Linked DNA regions of Homo sapiens: region 1 is linked to region 2. Evidence: promoter capture Hi-C in human tissues and cell types (Jung and others, 2019). All regions are on one chromosome and are shown on one strand. Each heading gives the region's core, a stretch centred on a gene start or on the middle of the fragment in contact. The rest is flanking DNA. Distances are from core to core; before and after follow the strand shown.

What was found. The method cuts DNA at HindIII sites, captures the fragments that hold promoters and counts their contacts. A contact is called where the count stands out against the background at its distance.
Region 1: a fragment that was not itself captured here is called in contact with the fragment with the promoter of LZTS1 in region 2 in 4 of the 25 tissues and cell types used here (H1 embryonic stem cells, IMR-90 fibroblasts, aorta and 1 more).

What each region holds. Positions count from the first base shown.
Region 1 is chr8:20,372,666-20,378,671 of GRCh38, forward strand. No RefSeq gene overlaps it. Among named protein-coding and RNA genes, the nearest start is that of LZTS1, 72 kb to the left of the region's middle. The HindIII fragment of the contact is 5,824 bases long and covers 1-4,412 here.
Region 2 is chr8:20,301,518-20,307,770 of GRCh38, forward strand. LZTS1 (leucine zipper tumor suppressor 1) reads right to left here and starts at 2,446. Exons shown (of 4, transcript NM_021020.5): 1 at 2,223-2,446. RefSeq lists a silencer at 2,436-2,505. The HindIII fragment of the contact is 20,395 bases long and covers 1-3,820 here.

The DNA of each region.
Region 1 (6,006 bases), core at 251-2,750, 70 kb after region 2:
CTAGTTGTCATTTCTGGTTGTGAAAGCAAGTCCCAGGGCCAGTCAAGATTCAAGGAAAGGGTAAATAAACTCCATTACTTGATGGGTGCAGCCAAAAAAAGTCATGTTCAAAGGCATGCCCACAGGGGCAGGAGGGATTGTTCTCGTGCTCCTTGTCTCTCTATTTCTTTGTCTATAACTTATATCTACATATAGTCTATACCTATATATTTATAGATCTGGACATGTATATATAGATATAGATAGGTGGATAGATAGATCTTTTTTTTTTTTTTTTTTTTTTTTTTTTTGTGACAGGGTCTCACTCCATTGCCCAGGCTGAAGCGCAGTGGTGCAATCATAGCTCACTGCAACTTCGACCTTCTGGATTCAAGTGATCCTCCCACCTCAGCCTCCCAAGTAGCTAGGACCACAGGCACAGGCCACCACGCCCTAATTGTTTTATTTAACCCTTAAAACCAAGCATCACCTTGGATGTGAGAAAAAATTGTAGTCGAGGGCGTTCGGGAACTTATTCAAGGTCACACAGCATTCTAGATTCAGATGTAGACCTGGCCTTCAGCTCCCCCTTCCCACCTTCAAGTCCAGCCTTCAAGTCTAGCCTCTTTCCACTTTCCCATCATCCACAGGGAGGAGTTGGCTCAGCCAAGTGAGCTTTTCTAGGATAGCTTCATGAAACAGCTGCCATTTGAGCGGGTTCTATTCTGGGCATGTTTACAGGACGCTAGGGGGCCAATGGGCTTGTTCTTCCCGCCCTCTGTCCAGTGGCAGTGACAGCAATCTGAGTCCTCTCCCAAGGACAGGTGGCAGCAACATGCCTGTGCTGGTGAACACTGGAATGAGAGCAGTGGGGATGTAGGAGGAGGAGATGAAAGAGGAAGAGGAAAAGGAGGATGAGAAGGAAGAGGAAGAGGAGGAGGGGAAGTGGGGAAGGAGGAGGGGGAAGAGGAGGAGGAGGAGAAGAAGGAAGGGAAGGAAGGGGAGGAGAAGGAAGAAAAGGAGAAGGAGGAGGAGGAGGAAATGGTGGAGGGGAAAGAGGAGGAGGGGAAAGAAGAGGAGGAGGAAGAAGAGGAGGAGGAAGAAGAGGAGGAGAGAAAGGAGGAGGAAGAAAAGGAGGAGGAGGGAAAGGAGGAGAAGGGAAAGGAGGAGGAGGGAAAGGAGGAGGAAGAGGAGGAGATGGAAAAGGAGCAGGAGGAGGAGGAAGAGAAGGAGGAGGAGGAGGGGGAAAAAGAGGAGGAGAGAAAGGAGGAGGAGGAGGAGGAGTCGGCGGCAGGAGGAGCCTTCCTAACACCTGGAGGGAATAGTGAGAGGGTTTGGCAGCAGCGAGTAAAGAGGCCATTGTGGACAGGCCAAATTGGATGAAACTGAAGGAGGTTTTTCTCCCCCAGATTTTTACCTTAGAGATTTGCTTGCCTTGGCGTGTTCTATCCTGGGGCCCTCATGCGTTCGTTTGACCTCGCTTTCACATTTTACCTATAGACTTTATAGTGCTTTTACATCTATCTTATTATCATTTTTCATAAGATCCCTAAGACAAAGCTGGTGTGGGGACTGTCATTCCTATTTCACTCATGAGGAAACTAAGGTGCCACATCAGGAAACAGTGAAGAGGGAGGGAGGGGAAAGTATTTAATGACCACCTAATATGTACCTGGCCTCTGTCAGGTGTTTTCTAGCAGTGACTCACTCATTCTTCTCCATAACGCCACTGCAATGATTAGAAAACAGAGGCACAGAGAAGGGCAGGCCTCCTCAAACTAAGCGTACTCCTTTCAAAACCTGGGTAAAATGCAGCACTACAGACACCCAGGGTTTGTCTTTGGCCTCTGGAGGCCCCACCCTGGGCCTCAAGTTTCAGGCGGCCCCTCACTAACCCCACAGGGCTGGGGCAGTAACGAGGGCAGAGTGCTCTGAGCTGTCTGGGTTGGAGTTGCACCTGCTGTTCCACCAACCTCCTCCCGGCTCCTCTATTGAAAGGACTCCAGCCATTGTTCCTGCCTCCTTCTCCCTGCTCTCTTCCAGAGCAGCCAGCCCCAGCTCCCACAATCCCCTTTGGCCACTGGGGGCATGGACACCTCTAGCTGAAAGGTTCAGGCCTGGGGCCTTCCTCCAGACACAGCTGGGAGGCTCTCCTCCTCCCTCCTCAGGGCTGGGACCTCCAGGTACTTCTTGTAAAGGCCACAGGCTCTCTCAAGGATTTGCCCCAGGGTCTGGGGTCTCCGAATCCCAGAGTTCTAGATGATTTAGACCCCCAGACACTTCACCTTTCTGTGGCTTAGTCTTCCTCTTTGCATGAAAGACCGAAGAACCTCACCCCCCACCCTAAAACTTATCAAAGAAACGAGAGAGAATGAAGTTAAACATGGAAAAATACCACTCATTCCACAAGCTTTTACTAAGCACCTAGAAGCTGCCTAACATGTGCCAGCAGTAGAAAAATACAGGAAAGTTCAAGGGGTTCACAACATGCTAAGCAGATCAAATATCTGCACAGATAATAAGAATATAGTAATGAAGAAAGTCTTTCAATGTCTCACTTCTTTCCCTTTTTGACCCACAGTGGCCAGACTTCATTCATCTGTTCATTTATTCATTGATCCATTCATTTGTCCATCCACCATCCATCCATCCATCCATCCATCCATCCATCCATCCATCCATTCATCCATCCACCCACCCTTCCTTTCTTCCTTCCATCCATTTGGTCAACCAGTCATTATTGGAGTACAAGATATTAAACACTGGAGAAGCAAAGAGGATACAACACAGAACCTGCCCTGGGAAGGAGGGAGGTGATGATACAGTCAAGGCAGCAAAATGCAGTACAATATCAAGCTATGGCTTAAGGGAGAACTGAGGCTATAGAATAATGCTCACTATACTCAGTCGTTGTAATGTCTGTGTGCCTCTGCCCCATTTACCTGAGGTCATACAGTCTCCCTATCCCTACAGCTCAGCATAGTGGCTGGCGCCAAATTAGAGCTCAATCAATGTTGAATGAAAGCACTAGTGAAATAAAGCAAAGAGTGTTGTAATTTCCTAAGTCTACTTCCTCATGTGAGAAAATGGGTGCTAATTATAGCCTGGTAGAGATGGAATAAGTTCAGTTCCATATGTGCTTAATGAGATACAGTGCCTGAATCAACAGATATTACATATTCCCTTTTTGCTTCCTTCCTTAGCTTGGGCATGTCTCTTTCCCATTTTGGACCAGTTTTTTTTTGTTTGTTTTTGCTTTTGTTTTGTTTTTACAACTGAACAATGAAGGGCTTAGCTAAAATCCTAACCATTTGGATTCCAAATACGAGATTTTAGTCTAGTGCTAGTTGTTCCTGAGAAGAGACTCATGTGCATTTCATAGATATTATGCAGCACTCACTGCATATTAATTATCAATTAAATATGAATCATCTGTGGGATGCTTCAGGCTCCTCAGGGATCATACTTTAGTTGCTTAGACAAATACAATAGGGAATTTTTCTAACGGTGAATGCAGTACCAACAGCAGAAGTTATTATTATACATATTTTTTCCCAAATATAGGCCACTGTTTTTATTGATTTTGGGATGGCTTTTTAACTATTACCTCAGATGTAACTCCAAGAAGCAAAGATGCTTAAATGAGATTTTGATGTTAACAAATATGCAGAGGGAATGCTGCCTTTGGTGGTGCAAATGGCATTTGGGGGCCCCCTGCTGTTAGGCATAAGAGGTTTGTACAAGAAAACCCTGGTCTTTGGTCTGCATTGCCCCCTGGTGGTGAGACTGATTTTTGACAGCGAGGGAGGGCTACTCCTGGGCCGAGCCACAGAGTCATCCAGCAAAGCTGTTAAGAACGAGGATATGTGGACCGAAAATAAAATTCTAAGCCTCCGCAACCGATGGAATGGACTCTCCTCTCAGCCAAGGGGACCCCAATAAACCTGAAAAACTAGTTCAGGCCATGATGGGACCAGGAGGCTTGGCGGTCAGACATGCTTCATTATATCCTCTCCCTTTTGGAGTTTAGACACAACTGACCAGCATTAATTTTAAAACAGAGATCCTACAACTGATGGAACAGACTCTTTGTAGCAACAAGATCCCAAATTCCAACCTGACTCTAGTATAACATCATATGACAGATAACAAGGCCGAAGAAACAAAGTATTTATTCCAAAGTGAAAGAAACCAAAGTATTTATTCCAAAATATATTTATTTGACATAATTTGAAATGGCCCTGCAAAGCTGTCTCTTGTGGGGAAAATTTACATTATAAAGCAAATTCCCTTACTTTCCAGGTCTTTTTCTGATTCTGAAGAGATTGACTGAGAGTTTAGCACATTTTAAAGTTCTGAAAAGGAAATATTTGCCACCTATTGCCTCTAGGGATGCCACTTATGAGAATTCATCTACATAATAGGAACCTTGGTCTCCACAACCTCTTACCTTAACGCAGACACTTCTTTCAATTGGCTCAAGGTCTTTAGACAATAACTTAACTCTTTCAACCAGTTGCAATCAGAAAATCTTTGAATCCACCTATGGCCTGTAAGTTCCCCAATCCTTTCAGTTGTCTTGTCTTTCCTGACAGAACAAGTGTATTGATTGATGTCTTATGTCTCCTGAGGACATATAAAACCAAGCTGTAGCCTAACTGCCTTGGGGACATGTTCTCAGGACTTCCTGAGGCTGTGTCACTGGTCATGATTCATAGTCATGGCAAAATAAACTTTTAAATTGTTTGAGACCTATTTCAGATACTTTTTTGGTTTACAGATATATCAGTTTGGGTAAATTTACTGAGTATTTGTTATGCAGTCAAAGACACTGTGGAGGTCAGACAAGAAGAGTAAAGGGCTGGGTGCAGTGGCTCACACCTGTAATCTCAGCATTTTGGGAGGCCAAGGTAGGAGAATCACTTGAGGCCAGGAGTTCAAGACTAGCCTGGTTAACAAAGTAAGACAAGCCCCCCTCATCTCTACAAAAAAAATAAAAACAAATAGACAGGCATGGTGGTGCATGCCTGTAGTCCCTAGCTACTTGGGAGGCTGAGGTGGGAGGATTGCTTGAGCCCAGGAGTGTGAGGCTGCAGTGAACTATGATTGTACCACTGCACTCCAGCTTAGGCAACAGAGCAAGACCTTGTCTCTTAAAAAAAGGAACAAATTCTAACCCCAGGGAATTTTTTTCTGGCTTTTGACCTTTCCCAGGGGAATATCACTGTCTTCTGGACTTTTCCTTCATCGTTCACTCAGTCATTCATTTTTTGGCAAACATTTATTGAGCAACTTCTATGTTCCAGGCACATTAATGGGTGTTGAGGTTATAAGAGTAGATTAAAACCAAACAACAAACCTTATCCTTAGGGATTTTTACATGTTCGAATACCTACCTTCAGGCTGGCATTCTCATAGTCCTGTAAAACTTTACTTATCACTGGGGCTGAGGAATCCCGTGCCAAGCCATTGCATGGCTATGGCTTAAGATATTCTCCTTTTATGGGATAATTAGTGCTTATTCAAGAGGGAACTGCAAAAGAGATGATATGGTTTGGTTTTGTGTCCCCACCCAAATCTCATCTTGAATTGTAATTCCCACCTCTTGACCGAGGGACCTGTAATCCCCACATGTGGAGGGAAGGAGGTGATTGGATCATGGGGGCAGTTTCCCCCATGCTGTTCTCATGATAGTGAATGAGTTCTCATGAGATACGATGGTTTTACAAGTGTTTGGAAGTTCCTCCTTCGTTCTTCTCCCTCCTGCCACCTTGTGAAGAAGGTGCCTGTTTCTCCTTCTGCCATGATTGTAAGTTTCCTGAGGCCTCCCAGCCATGCAGAACTGTGAGTCAATTAAACTGCTTTCCTTTAAAAATTACTCCGTCTCAGGGAAGATCCTTATAGCAGGGTGAAAATGGACTAATACAGGAGAGAAATCTCAAAGACTGAAAGGAATGTATTAATAATGATGGAATTTCAGATATTGTGCTGTGTTTTGAGGGTGGGAGGTTTGGGAGCACAGTAGGA
Region 2 (6,253 bases), core at 1,196-3,695:
GCTGCACAGCTCAGAGCCTTGCATTTGGTAGGCGCCCAATGAATATTTATGAAATGAACGTTGAATAAGCGCAAAGGCATATAAATAAGTTTTCAGGATTAGAAAGCCATTTATATACGTCTGGAGCCCATGTATAGCTTTGCTATACACGCTGACCCACGGCTTCTCAAAACTGAAAGGCACATCTTTCCCTCACACACTCCCAAAGCATTGGCTTTCCCCAGGGCACCCCACGCAGCAGCACTCCTTCTATGACAGCACCCCTGCCCCACATCGACCCAGGCACACACAGCTGGGGGCACCTCCTGCAGATACACAAATGCACAAGCTGAACTGCTGAGACAGGTTTACCTCGTGAAGCACACAGCCGCTGCTATAAATGTTAACTAACAACCATCTTCAGCACATCAAATGTCCCGCCCTCCCTTTTGCTTGCATATAGACACCCACAGAGATGCCCGTTCTTTTTCTACTAGTTTTCTTCTCTTCTTAAGCAGAGTGAGCGCCCCACACTCACATCCACCCAGCTGAGACCTCTTACTAGGACTCCCAGTTGCTCCATCCTATTAGCTGTGGGACCTTAGGGAAAGCCTTTCCCTTCTGACGCCTCCGTTTCTTCACTGGCAGGCACAGAGAGCCCACCGCACCAACCTGGTAGTTATGTTGTGAGGATAAAGGAGATAACGTATGAGATAACGTCTATGATGAGCAGAAAGAGCCTCCAAAGAAAAGCGCTGGATAAATACAAGGTGTAACGCCACGCCTGATTAGCCTGCATGCTCTCTGCCCACAGACTTCTACCCACAGACTATGTTCCACTCCACTCTTAAACACAAACACCTTTCCCGTCTGTACATGCTATCTCTAATACCCATATGCGCACACTCTTCGGGCACCTCCATTCTCCCTCTGGATGCCTGCAGAAAATTGTTTTTGAACTTAGAGAAAGCTCAGGTTGCAAACACCCTCTTGCCGGTACCCGCAGACTCTTCTCAGGGTCTTGGTGCAGGAACTGCCAAGCAGATAGCTCATCTCTTTGTGGCTGGGCTCCTGGGCTCCCAGCATTCCTATTAGGCTGCACTTCCAGCAGAGTGTGGGATCCTTATTAGGAGCAGCGCCTGCCCGGCATGGTCCAGAACTCAGTGCCTCCTCAGTACTTTCCCAGCGCCCGGGACCAGAGAGTAGAGGGGCTGATGGCAGCGGGACGGTGTGGAGGGAATAAGTGAGACAGGAAACACTTTAGGAGGCCAGATCCCTAAGCACTTCTTATTCCTGGGAAATTGAAGACTGCGAAGCTAACAAGTCTGGAGCACTTTCCCAGGCCTGACATACTCGTGGGCGAGCACAAGGCTCATTTGCTCCACAGTTCAAACCTTTCCACTTGGAGCACGAAAAAGAGACATCACCTGGCCCTTGGTGTCTCGGGGATGCCTGTTGCTGCCAAGCTGCGACCTCTGAAGCCCCTCCAGCCAGAGCAAAGCCTGTGGCAGGGTGGAGGGGTGAGGTCTGGCTGCCTAGGGTGGCGGTGGAAGAAGTGAAGGTAGTGTGGGGCTGTCTGTGTGTGCATGGTGCTTTGACTAAATTCCTGAATTGCACATCCAGGACCGACCCCAGGAAGCTGCAGCCCCAGGGAGCCACTTAGACACTTCGATTTACCACCTTCCTCTCTAACCACCTCCGCCCGTGTGACTTATTCCTTGAGGGAAACCTTTCAAATCTCTGGCTGCAACGCACCGGTGTCCTCCCCACCGGTGTGGACACAGCTCATCTGCAAAGTTCCAGGCGGCGAAGTTCAGCGGCCCGGACCGACCGCCGGACCCTCTTCCTGCGGCCCCTGCTCCTGCGGCCTCGCGTCCCCACCTCCCACTTCTTCACCTCCGACACCAGTGTCACCTAACACTGACGTCCCCGCCAGGATCAGCATCGGTGCTGGGAATAGACGAACCCCGTCTGCAGGAGACACGAAGACAAAGACAGGAGGACAGACGCACAGTCACCTCCTCTGGGCCGGGCCGGAGAAGCGGCGCCCACCCTGCAGAGGGGAGACCCTGACAGCTCCACGCGGAGACAAAGACACCTCGACAGCCACGGACACAGACAGACAAAGACCGACGGACGCGCGGACGCACGGACGGTCCGGCCCGGCGAGGGGAAAGCGGTTTCCCGCAGCCAGGGCAGCAGACCCTCCAGGGGCGAGGAGATCCCCGGCCACCGCACCTTACCTGCCCCCTGCGCCTCGGGCGCACTTGAGACTTTTTTTTTTTCCCAGTGTTTCCCGGTGTGTTCCCGTCTCTCTTTTTCCAGAGCTGCTGAGCGGGCCGGGCCGGTCCCACTGCGCGGGATGCAGCTCCCGGCTCCCACTCACTGGCCGAGGCGGGCAGAGAAACTTTCGGCCTCCCCGCCCGGCCGCTGCCAACCCGCCAGCTCCAGGCGCGCCGGCCTCTGCGCGGGTCCCGGAGCCGGGGCGGGGCGGGGCGGGGCGGGGCGGGGCGGGGCCGGCCCGGGGCGGGGCCAGAGCCGGCGCCGCTGATTGGCAGCGAGCTGCCGGCAGCCTGGTCTGTGCCGCTCGGCGGCCTTTGTTCCGGGCTGACAGCTGGGGCTGCTCGCGACCTCGCGGCTCCTTCGCGCCCGCGGCCTGCGCGGGGTCCCGGGTCCCGTCTCTCTGCTCTCACTTCCATCAGCCCCATTGGGCGACCCTGCCCCCTCAGTCTTCCTTTCTTGCCTGGCCCCCTTTCTCCGATTGTTCCTGTCTTGCTCTTGTCGCATCCTTTTTTCCCTTTCATTACCTGAAATTCTTACTCCAGTTTTGTTTAAAATCCATTCCTTCTCCCGTTCTGTGTATGTTCCCCTTTCTTCATTACCCCTTCCTCTTAATCGCCAGTTTATTTTTCTTAATACCGTCTCTCCCGCTCCCGACTCGCACTAAAGGGCGTGTGTTTTGTTCAAGGACTGGACTAGCACCCAAGTGAGGGGCATTGCGAACCACACCAGGATTACAGGCTAGAGTCCAGAGCACCGGGACTCCCACTCCCAAAACATGTCAAAAGCAAACTTTTCCAGCTCTGAGGGAGCTGAGTTTCAGGTGACAGCAGAGGCCTGTTTCAAGTTTATAGCTATTAGTCTCACCCAGTCCCCTTATAATACTATCATTTTCTCAACCACCCTCACTTTTAACTTCTAGCAACTGAGCCAGGAGAGGATTCAAGCTTACAAGGTTTTGTAGGACAAAGGGTCAGTTAACCGGAGTGCTAGGTGCAGCATGAGGCTTGGGGGCTTGAGGGTGCACTGAGGCTAATCCTCTAAAACCAGGCTTGGCGGGAAGATGGCAGCTCTGCCCAAGGAGTGTTAGCCTCATCTTGAAAGAAGCCTGTGTGTGTGTGTGTGTGTGTGTGTGTGTGTGTGTGTGTGTGTTGGGGGGTGGGGGATAGATGTAATGGATTAGGATTGACATAGCCGATCTGATTATAAATAGCATGGGGGCCGGACGCGGTGGCTCATGCCTGTAATCTCAGCACTTTGGGAGGCCGAGGTTGGTGGATCACTTGAGGTCAGGAGTTGAAGACCAGCCTGGCCAACATGGTGAAACCCCGTCTCTACTAAAAAAAAAAAAAAAAAAAAATACAAAAATTAGCTGGGTGTGGTGGCAGGAGCCTGTAATCCCAGCTACTTGGGAGGCTGAGGCTTGGGAATTGCTTGAGCCTGGAAGGCAGAGGTTGCAGTGAGCCAAGATAGTGCCACTGCACTCCAGCCTGGGTGACAGAGTGACACCGTGTCTCAAAATAAATAAATAAATAAATAAATACAAAAAAATTAAATAGAATTGTGGTGGCAGGGGGGACAGCTCAAAGGAAAACAAGCCATATGGTTTCTGCCACACCCCTGCTCAAAACCCTGTAGGGGAATCTCACTGCCTTCGGTTGTTGACCCTGAAGACTCTGACCTTCGAATCTAGGCTTCCTGAAAGATGGCACCGCGAGGGTTTAAGAACACAGACAGGCTTCGCTGCTTGTTATTTGAGCCATTACCTTCCCCTCCCTCTTTCTCAGTTTTTCTTTTTCTTTCTTTCTTTTTTTATTTGTGAAATGAGGTAACAAGTCCCAGTGTAAATTCCCTGAAGGCAGGAACTTGTTCTCTTTTATTGGTGGCTGAGGGACTTGGTCTGTTTTATTCATAGATGTATCCCCGACACCTAGAACTTGCCAGGCAACATAGTAGGCACTCAATATGTATTTGTTAAATGAATGAATTTCTCATGTATAGGTTTGTTCTGATGATTAAATGAAACCCACTGCCTTGCGGTAAGTACATACACGTGGCAGTAATTACAAGCAATACGACAATTTCTAAGTGTCAACCCCAAAGGCTACTCAGCCTTTTCCTGAACATCACCTCCTTTTCCCCACCTTTGTATAAACCTGCCCCTCAGTCTGAAAAGCTTTTCTCCTGCTCTTCTAACTCTACCTCTCAAAATCTGAGACAAAATATGGAACCCTTACTCACACCTTCTCTTATCGTCCAGGGCAAAATAATGTCTTCTTTTTCTAAAGCGCCATGCTTCTTTGTGTTGCATTTATTGACAGAGAACATGTATTCTTGCTTGCTGGTGAGAGTATCTCAAGAATTTTAGCTGAATGAGTTAATATCGATCAAACATTCCAGCGCTTTAAGGAAAGAGCAGACTCCTGGAAGGTAGATTAAGGTATGAGGTGGGCTCCAGACTTCAAACTCATTTTCACATCGTCGGAGGTGAGATTCCATGGAAGAGACAAAGGACTCTGGAAGCCCACTTTTTGTTCTGGCCCTACTGCTGACTATATGCTCTTGGACAAGCCATGTCCCTAATGAGGCCTCAGTTTCCTCATCTGGAAAGTGGATGGTTTGGAGTCCCTGATGAGACCTCAGTTTCCTATCTGGAAAGTGGATGGTTTGGAGTCCCTGATGAGGCCTCAGTTTCCTCATCTGGAAAGTGGATGGTTTGGATGAGAAGATACTCCTTAAGGACCCTCCTTCAGCACTGACACCTTTGTCAGTGACATTCTAGGTGAAAGCTGGGTATGATGTGCAGCCTTCCTGGAATGACTGAGTCAGGCAAAGGGTATGAGCAGTGTGTTGGTTTGTGTATGAGCGGTGGAAATGGGATACCCTATGGAACAACAGAAACACCCTGTGGAAGGGATACTTTAGAGACAGAATGCATAGAGAGTGGGGCTGGAAATGAGAAGGCAGAGTGGAGAAGGAGACCAGTGATGGACAGCACAGCATGTGTGTATGTATTATGGTTCCGTATGTGTGCATGAAAGCCTCAGGAATGTGGTCTCCAGCAGCACAAAGCCATAATTAGCTCCCTGATTCAGCAGTTGGGTATGGTAATGCAATGGCTGGGTGTGTCTACCCCCAACACCACCGGTAGGTTCTCAGTGTGGCTCCTTTTCTTCCTTGTCTAGTGAAGGGGCGCTGCCCTTCCTTAGTGTCTGGGTTCCCGAGAGGTGTCTTATGTGAAACTCTGCATCCCTCAGGCTCTCCCTTGCCTGAGTCGAGTCTAGAAAGCTGGGTCACAAAACATTTCTTGTAAAAATCTCCTACCCTCCTCCTGTATTCATCACCTGAGATACAGAGCATCATGCTTCATCTCTAGGACCTAAGATTGGCCACACTGGACCAGACCCATAGACCAGTTAAGCCAGCAGCTTGTTTGGATTACAGACAACTCTGCCTTCCTCAAGGTACTGTCACCTATCACAATTTAATTAATTCCCTGGCTTCTTGTTTGTCTGTTCATCTCTTCTGCAAGTTTCTTGTTCAAAGATCATGTCTGTCTTAGTCAACATTGAATCCACAGAACTCAGCACATTATTGGTACAAAGCAAGCGCTCAAAAAATACTAGAATGAGTGCTATGAGGGGAGGGAGGCGAGATGATGTTTCAGAGAGATAAATTGACTCAAATTCAGAAAATCCACGTGTATTCCTACTTCTTCCAATCTGCAGTCTTCTCACAACCCTTTGGAGGTTTAGTTTGCTATCAGTGAAAGAAGCCTAATAACATTTTCCCTATCTATCTTTTGGCAACAATACAAAATGAAAAGAATTAATAAAGTCAAAGGTGTTATGAAAAATACAAAATATCAAATAATTTTTTAATATTATTTCAAGTCTCAAAATCCAGGGCCTTGTGTTAAGAGAAAAGAAATGCTGACTATATTTAAGTGAGGTTGGATAATCTCCAAAAGCCGGTGAAAAAATATGAGCCTAGA